4 separate regions of the Homo sapiens genome follow, and all the other regions are linked to region 1. Evidence: promoter capture Hi-C in human tissues and cell types (Jung and others, 2019). All regions are on one chromosome and are shown on one strand. Each heading gives the region's core, a stretch centred on a gene start or on the middle of the fragment in contact. The rest is flanking DNA. Distances are from core to core; before and after follow the strand shown.

Region 1 (3,770 bases), core at 721-3,220:
ATAAATTGTTGTAAGATTAAAACAGTCATCCCAGAAATGCCGTTCTCTGTTGATGGTTCTTACTGGCCGTGGTTAAATTCTGGGCCTCAGCACAGTGACCTCAAGTATTTTTTCTTTAAGGGATGTGCTGCAGAGCTCCGAAGTAGGGCAGTGCTGTTTGCTTTTTAAACAAGCAAGTATTTTATAGAAGAACTTGTAAAACCAAGTGGTGCATTTCATTAGAACTCAAGTGGCCCGGAGAAAAGAAAAAGAACTCATTTCCCATGAGCTCTTAGAGCCACTGAAAGCTCAGAACAAAACCAACTGAGCAGGGTTTCAAGTATTCTTTTTGGTTTCATTTTCTCCTCAAATTTTCTGAAGAACAGCTGAGAGTTTAGCAAATACGGGTGCAAACGATTCTGCCTGCCACGTCAACCCTGCCTCGGGTGTCATCTGACGAGGATGCCAAGCTACAAGGGCTGCGGTGAGACTCAGAGACACGCTACCAATGGCACCGCGGCCCCACCTCGCCGAAGCAGCTGCCGGGGAGACGCGATAAAACTGCCCCACGCGGAAAAGAAGGAAGGGCGGTGAGCAGGCGCACAGAACAGACGCCACAGTGCGGCACGCATGCCTCCACGCCTAAAGGACAAAACTAGCATGGAGATCCCCTAGAGGTCGGATTTTCAACATAATCTCAGTGAGCCCAGGACTCCAATGTGACAATGTGGAACTGGAAAGACGAGCAAGAAAAGCCCCTCCGTTCCCGCCAGCGTTGGGCATTCCTTCTGCAGTCCAGGCTGTCCCCGTCACTCGGGATCACAGCCAAGCGGTGGGTTCTGTGTGGTGCTTGGCTCCTAGGGCCTCGCGGAAGCCATGTTCTTCTCCATTCAGCTTCATGGAGAGACTTTCCCAGGTTTCAGCCCACGCTACGAAGCTAGACAGGAGAGTGGCCCCCACCCGCCCTGTTTGGAACCCAGCTGGGGCATGCGGTGTTTGGAACACATGGGCAGATTGGGGAGAGGCCAGAAGAGCCTCATCCAGAGCCAAGGACAAGCCTTGAGGCTGAAGAGCTCACCAAGGCCACTACAAGAGAGCAAAAAAAAGAGCCTCAGAGACTCCTCGATAAATAACCAGAACAGAGAGCAAAGGTGGAGAGCAGGAGGGCAAGGCACTGAGACTTTAGAAGCTTCCAGGGAGAAGAAGAGTCAGATGCTTGAAGATGCCTCCTCAATGCTGCAAAGCTCTGAGGGAAAGTGGCTTTGATGGAGAATTAGAGATCCGGGCAAGTTGGTCCTTTCTGGAAAAGCTGCTTGGGGATACACTCCAGCAAAAAGAGAATCCACCAGCAAACAGGAAGGCATGAGCAGCCCAGGAAGTATGAACACAACCAAGGGAGGGCTGTGGCAGTATCTGTCCTGCTGGGCCGCACCTCGGGGCTGGAGGTGGGTAGAGGGGAAAGAAGGGGTAATGGCTGGAAAAGTGTCCCATGCTGACACTAAGCCCTGGTAGAGACCACCTGCTACGGGTCAGCACATTTCACTGAGCAGGAGATGCCCCTAGAAGACAAGGGATAGAGGTATAAAGAAAGTCCTCTCCCTGACTGCAAGGAGCTAGAGGGGAGACAGGCACAAGAACAACACTGGAATGGGGACAATATCAGCCGCAAAGGAAGCAGAGAGCAGGGCTCCGGTGGTCAGCCCTGGGTGGGGTCAGGAGTCCACGAGTGATGAGGGCTAAGTCTGAAGGCCAGAAGGGTGTCGGCAGCCACGGAGAGAACAAGTACAGTTAACCCTGGGAAGGCAGAGGCCAGGTGGTCTCAGGACCACGGTCAGGAAGAGATGCCTCACGTGGCGGGGACACAGCGGGAGCAGTTCAGGCACCACGGCTCGTCCACTGGGGCCCCAGCCTCTCACTGCAAGCAGTGCAGGTGGACATCTGCCCCAGAGGCAGCAGGGAGCGTGTGTCCCAAAGCCCCCAGCACTCATGCCCTGTGCAGGCGCCGAGCAGCCGGCCCTGGCCGGGGCGGTTCCCTCCTAGGCCTGTCCAGGACTCGGCCCCCACAAACACATGGACCGACAGACGAAATCCCTCAGGAGTGTCTCTGCGCCGACGCCATGGCACCCACGAAAAGTGCCACACATAAAGTCAGTCTGCAAATGCCAACGTTACCCAGTCTTCATGTCACATTTCACCTACAGATCCCTTCCGAATTGTAACAATATCTCATAAATGTTTGAGCTTCAAAGGAAAGGTCCTTTCCGACGTTCAGATATATATACTCCGTGGCTGCCTGCGAGCCGTCTCCCAGGCGGGTGTGTCCTTGGTCCGCCTTCTGGGAAGTGTGCACAGGCAAGGAATCCCATGTCAGCCTCAGGACGGCCCAGCGGTCACTCTCACCTCATCAGTGACAGGAAGGTCTTGATGAGCAACTTGGCCAAGGCCACACAGCTAAGGTGTGGCCCACCAACCCTGAGCCCCACTACTTCCACCTGTCACAGCTTCCAGAAAGTTCTCTGCAGTGAACTGCTATCAACCCAATTCTGACCAACTGTAATTACACTGTTTCCAGATAACACCTTAATTCTGAGGCAGTTAAAATGCATTGTGTACATATACTATGTGACTCTCATCAATAGCAAACCAACGTCAGTTCAGTCCAGGAGAACCCACCCAGGGTGGGCAGCTCTAGCCTAGGGTGTCTTCAGTAGCACCTGCAAGGCTGTCCTTCCCCCGTCTTGTCAGGGAATCCAGCTCTACCACTGGCGCTGTAACAGACACAGGGCTGCTGGAAATTCCAGGAGTCCAGCCCCAGCTGCCTGTGGCCGCCCATGGACGGACCTGGCCAGGCCCCCTGGGAGGGGGATTTCAAAGCATCAAGGAGCCGGCCTGGCTGACGAGGCTCCAGACCAGCTGTTTGCCACACACGCCCCCGTACTGCAGGGTTGACCAGTGAGGGCCTCAATCTTCCGCAGGGAACGCCGGGCCACAACGTCGACGCACGACCCTGGGGGTTCCTGCCATAAAACAGTGAGGGATTCTGGCCAGGCTGCTCTGCCCTCTGTTCCGGTGAGCCTGGGCATGGTGCCCACTCTTGGGTTCGGTTTCCTTATTGCGCACACAGACAGCAGCAGGCCTGACTGCAGGAGGCACCGGCACCCATGGGCGGCCGGCACTGCCCCTACACACCAAGAACATGGCACCCAGGTCCCGCTGCTTAGGCCGGAAACTCCTGTCACATAAGCTTTTACTCGTCCAGATTTCAGCCATTCCTGGGAGTGACATCTGTGCTGAGGGGAAGCTCAGTGTCAGTGTCAGGCATCCCCGACCACCTCGGGCAGCCTCGGTCCTCCCAGGAGCCGTCACGGCCCGAGAACGCCGCTGCCCAGATGTGAACCGGGTGTCCAGGATACGCAGGCTGCACAGTGGCGTGAATGAAGGGCAGGGCTGAACTCCAGGGCCTACGGACAATCGCTGCACAGCCGGGCCAGTGGCTGACCCTGCTTCCTCGCTGTCCACTGGGGGTAGTGGCGTTGTCACCAGGAGGTCAGCACCGGGCAGGGTGCTACTTCAGCATCTGCTCAACGCAGTAATCACACTAGGGACCCGAGTCCACACGTCAGGAAGACAGGTGTGTCTTCAACTCTGAGCCCTGTGAAAATGCCGCTTTCCGCTAACACACTCCGGCTCCCACAGCACAGCAGGGCATGCCCGACACCCCAGGACGCCCGCGGTATGCACGTCTGTGTGCAGTGAGCACACCCCTAGCACCTACACACCTCGGTGGCAGC
Region 2 (3,770 bases), core at 353-2,852, 440 kb before region 1:
TGCCAGGGAAGGACTGGGAAGGGAAGAGAACCTGCGGTCCCTGAGTGAGGCCTTGACTGCACCCTCTCCTGTGGTTCGAAAGCCACACTTGGCCAGTATCCTGCCATGCAGGTGAGGAAGCTGGGGAGGACAGGGTCCCAGAGCCTTGTCCAAGTTGCAGAGAGGAGAGCCAGCTCTCACTCTGCAGCCCTCTGTGCCCCCAGACCCCCACTGGCCCCCGGGGACACATTTCCTGCCCTTGGGATGCTTTGGCATGGATATAGTCTGGGAACAAACGGCACATCCAGCTGCCCTGCCTGTCTCCACAGAGGGGGCAGCAGACCTAGGGGGAGGTGTCCAAGACACAGGAATGAAGTGTCCTTACCAAAAGCTTCCGAGGACAGAAATAAACCCCTCCTGCCAGCTTCTGCACTGACTGCAGCTAGAAGCCGAGCTCCACGTGGGACACAGGTGTCCCTGCTGCGGCATCTCAGCATGACGGAGGCCCATCCTTGGCTTTCCTGGAGCATGAATATCCTCTGAGGAGCACTGGCCCTGGCCTTGTAGGTCTTGCTGAGACTGGCTTAGATTTTCTGGCCCAGGAGCAATCGTCACCCAACCTCCCACTTGTAAATCTCGCCACAGAATCGGCCCACAACCGTCTCTCCGGAATCTCGGCGGACCAGCCCTGCTCCTGTGTCTCCCTCTCCCGCAGAGCCACTGCCTTCTCAGGCTCCTCAAGTGCACCTAAGAGCGGGAGTCTGGCTGCCCTCAGCACTCGCGTCCCGCCCTGCAGCCTGATAAGCTTGACGCCAAGGCATTCTCCCGAGAGCCGGCCCAGCAGCTGCTGGCAGGAGAGTGGCCTCAGGGCAGCGGGAAGGGGACCTCCGGGGAGAGAATGAGGCCTGCGCAAGGGTCCTGGAAGGACCCAGGAGTCGCCCCGGCTTCCCTCCCCCAGGCCCTGGTTGGGCGCCGTGGGCCGCGTCCCAGTTGAGCCCGGCGTGGCCGTTTAATGGCGTCCCTCCGCGACCGAGGACGAAGGGGCCTAGAGAGGCTGTGCCCAAGCGACGCTGCGAGGCCAGGCCGCGTCTCGGGCCAGGGCGGTCCCCTTGCCACCGCCGCTCTTGGCCGCCAGGACCAAGCACAGCACGCAGCGTCGCGAAAGGGGCGGTCCTGGAAGGCGCGAAGGGGTCTCCGGGTCTCGCGAACACGGCGGGGTCGGGGCGGAGTCGTGGGTCCTCGGTCGAGCGGCCGCCCAGAGCCCCGCGGGACACGGACGGCCCCAGCCCGGCTCCCCGCGAGCCCCACGCGTCTGTGACGCCGCTGATGCGCAGACGCCGCGGCTGCAGGCCCCGCCCCTCCGTGCCCCTCGCAAGGCCCTCTGGGAGTTGTAGTTCCAGCTCCTCCTCGGGCCGCCCCACTCCCTGATAATCCTGGAGCGCGGCGCCTCCCGGGGACCGAGGCCTCGGGCCCGGCCGTCTCCAGCAGCGAGGGCAGGAGAAGTGGCCCGGGCGGTCGGCGGACTGGGAGGGCGCCACCCGAGGACTACAACTCCCGGCCTGCCTCGCGCAGGCACCGCCCCGAGCTTCCGCCCCGTCGGCGCCGCGCAGCCCTGTGGGAGCCGTAGTCCGGGCGCGCGATTCACAGCGCCGCGTGCGCCCCGGGCGCGCCGTAGCCGCGGGGCCCGGGCCGGGCGCTACGCTACGAAGGCAGCGTAAGGCGGGCGCCGGACGCGGGCAGGGGCCGGGGCCGGAGCCGGGTCGGGGCGCCCCGCGGCTGAGGAGCGGGAGGCCGTCCGGGCAGCGCGGCCGGCGGCGAGAGGGGCCCCGCCGCTCTCCGGAGGCAGAAGTTGTGGATCGGCCGGCGGGGGCGAGCGGGCCCGGGGGCCGGGGCCGCGCTGCCCGGGCCGCGAGGACGAGGCGGCGCCGCCGGGCTGTGGAGGTGAGTCCCGTCGGCCGGGCCCGGCCGGGCGCCCAGCCGGGGACCCCGGGCGGGGAGCGCGGGCCCGGAGGGCGGCGGGGAGCGCGGGCTCGGCGGGGCGCAGGAGGCCTCGGGGGCCGGGCGCGCCGGGCTCCGAGCCAGGGCAGGGACGGCAGGGCCCCCGGAGTGGGGTCAGCCCGCCGCCCGCTGGCGCCTCCAGGCTGGTGGGGGCCAGGGCTGGGCGATGCTTCGCAGAGGAACCCAGAGGAAGGCGGGAAGTCGGCAGGGACCTGGGCCATGTGGGTCACTTGAGGCCAGCCCCGGGGGCCGCGCACACCGGAGGCGGCCTCGGCCCTGCCTGCCCTTGAGTGCCCTTATATCCGGGCCCATCGTGCGGTCCTGGCCGCCTTAGGGATGTTGTGCTTGGTGCGGGCATCACTCCCCTCACTTGGGGAACGGCCTGGGGGCGGCCACCTGGCGTGGAGGGGCTGGCGGGAGCCCCGTCTGTGCCAGCCATGCCAGTGTTCTCTTCCGTGTTCCTCTGGGGCTGCTGCGGCACCAGCTGGGAAGTTGCAAATCTGCTGTCCTCCCGCTGGCTGCAGAAGGGGCCCCTCTAGTCCTGACCGGGGGAACTCTTGTGTGGTCAGCTGGCCCTGGCCGGGCGAGCTCTCGGGGCCCCCTTACTGCTCTGGAGTTTGTTACCGGACTGCAGGTAACAAGACCCGGAAAGCAATGGTGAGGCCCAGAACCTGAGGCCAGGCCTGGGTGTGTGGGGCCAGTGGGGAAGACTGGGACTCCGTTGGGTGCTGAAGAGTTGTGTGCTTCTCCTTCGGGAAACCCGGATCTCTTCCTCTGCCCAGGTCTGAGGGGTGCGGAAACGTGAGTCACAGTTCAGTGTGGGAGTGCCCCGTAATTGCCTCCGCGTTTCCAGAGTCTGGGGCTGGGCAAGGATATAGGGGTGATTCTCCCTTCCGGTTCTGAGTGACTTCTCAACTGTGAAGTGGGGCAAGAGAAATTGTTTTTCTGGCCTGTCTGGGGGAGGCAGGTCCTGCAGGAAACCAGCTTGGCCTGGCCTTGGGTTGGGTGTGCCTTGCCTCCTCCGAGGTCCTTCTGCTTGCGGGAGGAGCACCCCTCTTTTTCCTGCTTCTGTCTGTGTCTGAGGCTCTCCAGAGCTCCTTGATTGGCAGAGGAGCCAGTGACCTCTGAGTCCCCAGGAGAGCCCGAGGCTCAGTAACTGCATAACTGCGCAGGGCCTCTTGTCTGGGCCTCCACAGACCGTGGTCTCTGAGAGCAGGAAGTGGCTGGTCCCCTGTAATGCTGCATCTGTGTGACAGCCTCAAGCCCTGCTGGCTCTCTCTCCGGGCACCCCTCACTTGCTTCTTGCCCTGGCCTTGGGCAGCACTCCGGTAACCCCAGTGCCACAGGTGAGGAACCGAAGCTGGAGACAGCTGTTCATGGCAGGGGAGGGGCCGAGGGAGGCTGAGCGCCTGGTCTCTCCCTCCTGCTGGTTCCACCAGTTCACACGAGGCAATTGGAGGGAAGGATTCTGCTGCCCGGAAAATCCTCCGGAACCACAGGTGTTGTTCATGGGCCTGAGCCGCTCAGTGAAGAACTCGGCCGTTGGTGGCCGAGTTGCCCCTGGTCCAGCCCTCTGGCCCGCGGTGTGATGCCTCTACTCATGGCAACAGGCGTGGACAGGTGCTGAGAAGGAGGACGACATCATTAAACAAAACAGCTTGGGGTCTTTGAAAAACAGTGACAGAAACCCAGGAAGGCTGGTGACTTGTCAGGTCTGTGTCTGTCCTGGGTGGCCACTCGGCCCTGGACCGTGAGGCTGAAATGACAGGAGACACGGAGGGTGGGCTTGGGTG
Region 3 (3,770 bases), core at 948-3,447, 340 kb after region 1:
GAAATGCCCGCTGGGGACCCTGTGGGAGGTGGTGGGGGAATGAGTGAGGGAGGGAGGGAGTGAATGAGTGAAGGAGGGAATGAGTGAGTGAGGGAGGGAATTAATGCATGAGTGAGGGAGGGAATGAATGAATGAGGGAGGAAGGGAATGAGTGAGGGAGGGAATGAATGAGTGAGGGAGGGAATGAGTGAGGGAGGGAATGAATGAGGGAGGGAATGAATGAATGAGGGAGAGAGGGAGGGAATGAGGGAGGGAGGCAATGAGTGAGGGATGGAATAAATGAGTAAGGGAGGGAATGAGTGAGGGAGGGAGGGAATGAATGAATGAGGGAGGGAGTGAATGAATGAGTGAGGGAGGAAGTGAATGAGGGAGGAAGGGAATGAGTGAGGGATGGAATGAATAAGGGAGAGAATCAGTGAGGGAGGGAGGGAATGAATGAGTGAGGGAGGGAATGAGTGAGGGAGGCAGGGAATGAATGAGGGAGGGTGGGAATGAATGAGGGAGGGAATGAATGAATGAGGGAGGGAATGAATGAATGAGGGAGGGAGGGAATGAGGGAGGGAGGGAATGAATGAATGAGGGAGGGAATGAACGAATGAGGGAGGGAATGAATGAGGGAGGAATGAGTAAGTGAGGGAGGGAATGAGTTTGTGAGAGTGGGAATGAGTGAGGGAGGGAGGGAATGAATGAATGAGAGAGGAAATGAGTGAGGGAGGGAATGAGTGAGGGAAGGAATGAATGAGTGATGGAGGGAATGAATGAATCAGTGAGGGAGGGAATCAGTGAGGGAGGGAATGAGTGAGTGAGGGAGGGAGGGAATGAATGAGAGAGGGAATGAGTGAGGGAGGGAAGGAATGAATGAGGGTGGGAATGAATGAATGAGGGCGGGAATGAATGAATGAGGGCGGGAATGAGTGAGAGTGAGAATGAGTGAGTGAGGGAGGGAATGAATGAGTGAGGGAGGGAATGAGTGAGGGAGGGAATGAGTGAGTGAGGGAGGGAATGAGTGAGGGAGGGAATGAGTGAGTGAGGGAGGGAATGAGTGAGTGGGAATGAATGAGTAAGTGAGGGAGGGAATGAGTGAGTGAGGGTGGCAATGAATGAGTAAGTGAGGGAGGGAATGCGTGAGAGAGGGAAGGAATGATTGAGTGATGGAGGGATCGAATGAATGAGGGAGGGAGGGAATTAGTGAGGGAGGGAGGGAATTAGTGAGTGAGGGAGGGAATGACGGAGTAGGGGAGGGAATGAATGAATGAGTGAGGGAGGGAATGAATGAATGTGGTCACTCCCCGCGGTCCCCAAGCACCCGGACACCGTGACCTTGGCTGCGGCCCCGCCGTCGGCGAAATGCGGGCGGGGGGGCCGGGAGAGCCCGGGGGCCAGCACGGTCGCGCGTTGGCGAACGGACTGTCCCGCGCGCTCGCGGGTCTGGGGGCCTCCCGACCCGGTCCTGCTTGTTGCGTGGGCGGGAGGGGGGACCGGAAGCGCCCCTCCCCCACGGGCTCGCCCCGCCCCCGCCGCTCGCGGTCCCCCACGTCCCGCCCGCGCCCCGGCCCAGGGCCAGCCCCCGGTTTAGGGAGCATCCACACTTCTCCTCCCGTCGGTCATGCTCGCATTCGGCCTTTTGTACGGGGTCAGCTCATTGGGCGGATGAGAAGGTGTCCCCGCCTACCGCCCCGAACTGGCCAATTGCAAGGGGTTTCACAGGGCGCTGAACTCGCGGGAGCGTCACCGTCCTGCGACGCTTCAGAGGATCCTTAGGCCTCAGTGGTCTTTGACCCCCGGCCCCAGGACCTGACCCCAAGGAAACCTCCGGGACCTGTGGCTGGAGAGGTGACCGCCAGGCATCCGGGGAGCCTTTGGAGATCTCGGCTTCCTTTTTCCCCCGCTGCTTGCCGGCGTGTCCTCGGGTGGACGCGGGCAGCCCGAAGGGGAGTTTACAGACGCTCCCTCACATCGGGGACGCGGCTCCTTTAAGGGCGTAGGTGTCCAGGGCGCCGCCTGACTGGAAAGTCGCCCCCCGGCCGGGCTCCTGGGGCGGACCCGGGGCGCGGGCGCGCGGCGGCGGGGCGCGGGCAACGGGGAGCGCTCGGCGGCGCGGGAGGCGCTCGGGGCCGGGCGGCAGGAGCGGCGCGCGAGGCAGGCGTGCAGAGGGCAGCCCCGCGTTAGGCCCCGCCCCGCGCGCCCCGCCCGCGCCAGGGTCCTCGGAGCTGCTCTGGCTGCGCGCGGAGCGGGCTCCGGAGGGAAGTCCCGAGACAAAGGGAAGCGCCGCCGCCGCCGCCCCGCTCGGTCCTCCACCTGTCCGCTACGCTCGCCGGGGCTGCGGCCGCCCGAGGTGAGCGCGTGCGGGGGCCGGGCCGGGGCCGCGGGGCGGGGGTCGGGCCGAGGCCTCTACTCCTGTTGGGCCCGGGCCCCCGACTGCCCCGCGCCCCGCCCCGCCGAGCCGGGCCCCGCGCCGCGGCCGAGCTTTCCGGGGAGCCCGAGAGGCCCCGCGCTCGGCGCCGGCTCGGTCCGCGCTGCTGGCGCCGCTGGGCTGCGGCCCGAGCGGCCGGGCCGCCGCAGGCCTTCGGGGCCGGGGCTCCCCCACTTCGCCCCCGAGGTGCGCCTGGCGCGGGGCCGGGGCAGCCACCTGCAGCCGGGGCCCCGCGAGGCCGCGCCTTCCTCCTGCGCGGGGAGCGGCTTCCGGGGTCACGGTCGCCCCGCGGACGGATAGGATGGGCCGCGGGGGGAGAGTCTTGGATTGCAACATCGCTGGCTCGCGGGGGTGGGGGCCGGCGAGCGGGCTTGTTTTCGGTGCCTTAAAACCAAAACAAGTGTAAGTTTTCTTGTGCCTCTGAAGATGCTCCGCTGGCGCTTGCTGGGGCCCTGAACGTGAGCGCCTCGCTGGAGGGGGAGTTTTATTCTGTTTTGGACATCTCTTTTTATCGGTTGAATAGTAGTTGGTTCTGGTAGTTAACGTGCGTAGGAGGAATGTAAGGGAATGATTAGTTGGGCTTGTGATCGTGGCCTGTAGTCACGCTTGAATCGCAGAATGAAGTGGTTTTGTTTGTATAATTGGAAGTTACGCTTAGTTTCTCTGTTTGCAAAGTGCCTGTCTTTGGGGAGTTCGGTTTGTTTCCTTTTACAGGACCTACCCCAAGTGTTTCTTGCTCTTCAAGAAACGTTGCCTTTGGGTAGAGAACCTATGCAACGGAAGACGGGACGGATCCTCAGTTTGCCCTGATTGCTCATTCAGAGAGGTCCGTTCCCTAGGCCACTGGGTGATTGCTGGTGTGCGCTTGTATGGTGTCTCAGGGTTTGGGATCTTGCTTCAGAAACATTCTCGGGGCCTGGGGCAGATCAGGTGCGGCCAGGTAAGCGTCTCCCGACTGCAGGTGCTTGGGTCTTGCAGAAGGGAATACCTCCCCAAGCCTGGGAGAGTTTGCATTTGGGTGCAGGAGGGCCTTTAAAGGCTTCTTGTGCCAGCCTGTCGTGGCGACCACCCGTTGTGGAGATCAGTGCGGTGGAGTTGTGGGAGGTGAGTGCTTTGCTCACCCTCAGCCAGGAAGTTGCTCTGAAGTCGGTGCTGTCAACCAGCAGAGCAAGGCGGTGATCCGAGAAGCTAAAGCTCAGCCGGTTGCGGGCGCCCAGCAGGAGGACAGAAGGCAGACTTTCGGGCCGCTCCTGGAGTGCCCGGCCCTGTCCCCGTTTCTGCAGTGTCTGGGCCTTGCCTGGCTCTAATAGATGAGGGTTGTTTTTGTCTTTGCATCATAAAAGTTTCTTGCTCTGAA
Region 4 (2,528 bases), core at 1-2,500, 300 kb before region 1:
AGCCTCACGCTGGCTGCTCACAGGTGGTGGAGAAGATACCACTGCCCTTTTTTGCCATGTCCCTGAGCCTGTCCCCCGGGACCCACCTCCTGGCTGTTGGCTTTGCTGGTGAGTGCTGGTGGATGCAGTTTGGGCCTGTCTTAGGTGGGGGCCAAGTGGGCTGACTGGTGCCCTGTTCCAAGACAGGTGCCTCACCTGTGCCCCGGGCTCCTCGTCTCTGGGGTGGGGTGAGGACATCTGCCCTAGAGAGGGTCCTGGAGTCAGGAGATGATGAGGCAGGTGAGGAACCAGGCACAGCGCCCAGCACAGGGCCTGAATGCACGGGTGGCAGCGACTTTTAAGGAGGGAACTGGCCCAGCTGCAGGCCGACAGCCTGGCAGTGATGGACCCCCTAGTCCCAGTGGCACGTGGAGGGCACAGCCAGGAGCCCTTTTAGCACCAGCTCCCCCGACCAGCATCATGCCCAGTGGGGACAGTCTGGGTGGGTTGGGGGAGCCCTCTGAGTGCTGCCTGGTCCTGGCCCTGGCCCACCTGCACCGTCTACCCACAGAGTGCATGCTGAGGCTGGTAGACTGTGCCATGGGGACTGCCCAAGACTTTGCCGGCCACGACAACGCAGTGCACCTGTGCAGGTTTACACCGTCCGCCAGGCTGCTCTTCACGGCCGCCCGCAACGAGATCCTTGTGTGGGAGGTCCCCGGCCTCTGAGATGCAGCAGGGACTGTGGTGGTGGGCATCACGCCTGGTCATGCCAGGCACCTGGACACAGGCTTGGCAGAGGCGCCAGGTTGTCAATGGCCTCATGCTGGGACAGGCCAGGATTCACGTAAATCGCCTGGAGCAAGCTGTTGTAAATTTGGCGCCCTGTGAATACTTTCATACCTGTTGCCCTTTTGCCTAAGAAATCTTTAATGTTTCTATCTTGTAATAAACATGGGCATTTATTGCATTATTGCTGCATTGTTGCACTGGCTGTCTCTGGTCACTCCTGGCCTGAGCTCAGCCTCTGCCCGTCCCTTAATCGGCTGTTTGTCAAGGCCCCTGTGGTGCCGTGAAGCAATGGCCGCTCGGCCTGCCAGGGCGCCAGGACCCTGCGCTGTCCGCCGTGGCCGGCGCGTCCACACGGTGGCGCGCCGCACAGCCTGTCCGCTCTGGCCCGCCCGGCTCGCTGGTGCGGCTGTGCGGGCGGGGCCGGAAGTGTGGGGACAGCGCGGGGCCGAGAACCGGAAGTGCGGGGCGGGCGCGGGGGCAGAGCGAAAGGCTTGAGGACCAGGTCGGGGCCGGGTTCCGGGTCGGGGAGCGGCTCCGGGCGGCAGCTATGAGGCGGGACGTGCGCATCCTGTTACTGGGCGAGGGTAGGCGCCGGCCCGGGGGTCTCGGAGCTGCGGCGGCCGTGAGGCGGGGTGAGGGTCTCGGGGGTCGGGGGGCGCCGTGACCTTGGCCCTCGCGCTGACCGCCTCGCCCCGCGCAGCCCAGGTGGGGAAGACGTCGCTGATCCTGTCCCTGGTGGGCGAGGAGTTCCCCGAGGAGGTAAGGGGCACGCCCGCCGCGGGGGTGGGAGCGGGCCCAGCCGGGGGTCCCTGGTGAGCGCGCGGGTCCCTTGCAGGTCCCTCCCCGCGCGGAGGAGATCACCATCCCCGCGGACGTCACCCCGGAGAAGGTGCCCACCCACATCGTGGACTACTCAGGTAGCGGCCGTAGCCTCCCGGGGGCCCGGCCCGCAGCGGTCCGGCGGGCCTGCTGGGTCCGCAGTGGAGTCTCTTTGTCCCCCTAGAAGCCGAGCAGACGGACGAGGAGCTGCGGGAGGAGATCCACAAGGTACCCGTGGTGCGCGGGACGAGGGAGGGGCTGGGCGCGGGCTCGGCCTAATCCGCTTCGCAGCCTGGGGGATTGGACCGAGGTGCTCCGGGTGTCCTTGGCCCTGATAATTCTGTGACCTCCGCACTGAGGGTTGTCGGGGCCCCTACAGCGCACCCCGCTGGGAGCCGGCACCGCTCAGTCCAGTGGTGCTCCAGGGATAACAGGACCCTTCCCCGCGGGCTCTCCCTCCCTCCTGCCGGGGTGGCAGCAGCGTTTGCTCTTCCTGTGGGCTCTGTGTGCGCCACGTCCCCGTGCTGTGTGCTCCAGCCCACCGTCCCGGCCTCCGGGCACCCGGAGCTCCCAGTACCAGAGCACGTGTGCCGGGGACATCTCCAGGCAAGGGCACAGGCCACAGCCACCCAGGGCAGCCCCTGCTGTTGGCACCCCTCACTGCGGTCCTGTCACTCTGTCTGTAGCGAGGGGGGAGGCAGGGGCCAAGGCGGCGGCTGTCTTGCAGGGTGTTGGGTTGCAGGTGTGGCCGTGTCTGTCCTGAGCCCTCTGCTCCAAGGGTCTTGCTGACCACAGTTATGCTTCTGGGGCCTGGTGTCCCTGCACTGGCAGTGGGCGGGGAAGAGGCTTCTCTGAGGGTTCAGCAGCAGCTCCCAGTGTGACACTGGGGAGTGCCTGCTCTGCCAACACCAGGCTGGAGGCAGGTTTTAGGGAAGGCT

Evidence for each region. Contacts are between HindIII fragments. The study calls those that stand out against the background at their distance.
Region 2: the fragment with the promoter of CAPN15 here is called in contact with a fragment that was not itself captured in region 1 in 1 of the 25 tissues and cell types used here (aorta).
Region 3: a contact is called between the fragment with the promoter of UBE2I here and a fragment that was not itself captured in region 1, in 1 of the 25 tissues and cell types used here (lymphoblastoid cells).
Region 4: the fragment with the promoter of RHOT2 here is called in contact with a fragment that was not itself captured in region 1 in 4 of the 25 tissues and cell types used here (dorsolateral prefrontal cortex, lymphoblastoid cells, spleen and 1 more).

The regions. Positions count from the first base shown.
Region 1 is chr16:964,357-968,126 of GRCh38, forward strand. The region is part of intron 1 of LMF1 (lipase maturation factor 1); the gene reads right to left. Among named protein-coding and RNA genes, the nearest start is that of LMF1, 4.7 kb to the right of the region's middle. The HindIII fragment of the contact is 3,168 bases long and covers 387-3,554 here.
Region 2 is chr16:526,110-529,879 of GRCh38, forward strand. CAPN15 (calpain 15) reads left to right here and starts at 1,603. Exons shown (of 14, transcript NM_005632.3): 1 at 1,603-1,920. LINC00235 (long intergenic non-protein coding RNA 235) reads right to left here and starts at 1,298. Exons shown (of 1, transcript NR_024121.1): 1 at 738-1,298. RefSeq lists an enhancer at 162-723. The HindIII fragment of the contact is 8,144 bases long and covers 578-3,770 here.
Region 3 is chr16:1,307,439-1,311,208 of GRCh38, forward strand. It overlaps UBE2I (ubiquitin conjugating enzyme E2 I), which reads left to right and starts at 2,198. Exons shown (of 7, transcript NM_003345.5): 1 at 2,198-2,335. RefSeq lists silencers at 1,267-1,556, 2,047-2,346, 2,547-2,736 and enhancers at 1,767-2,006, 2,708-3,319. The HindIII fragment of the contact is 23,762 bases long and covers 1-3,770 here.
Region 4 is chr16:666,882-669,409 of GRCh38, forward strand. RHOT2 (ras homolog family member T2) reads left to right here and starts at 1,251. Exons shown (of 19, transcript NM_138769.3): 1 at 1,251-1,355; 2 at 1,472-1,530; 3 at 1,607-1,688; 4 at 1,775-1,818. The coding sequence starts at 1,319. WDR90 (WD repeat domain 90) reads left to right here. Exons shown (of 41, transcript NM_145294.5): 40 at 24-108; 41 at 551-949. The coding sequence ends at 708. RefSeq lists an enhancer at 962-1,643 and silencers at 1,029-1,368, 1,429-1,528, 1,629-1,718. The HindIII fragment of the contact is 52,780 bases long and covers 1-2,528 here.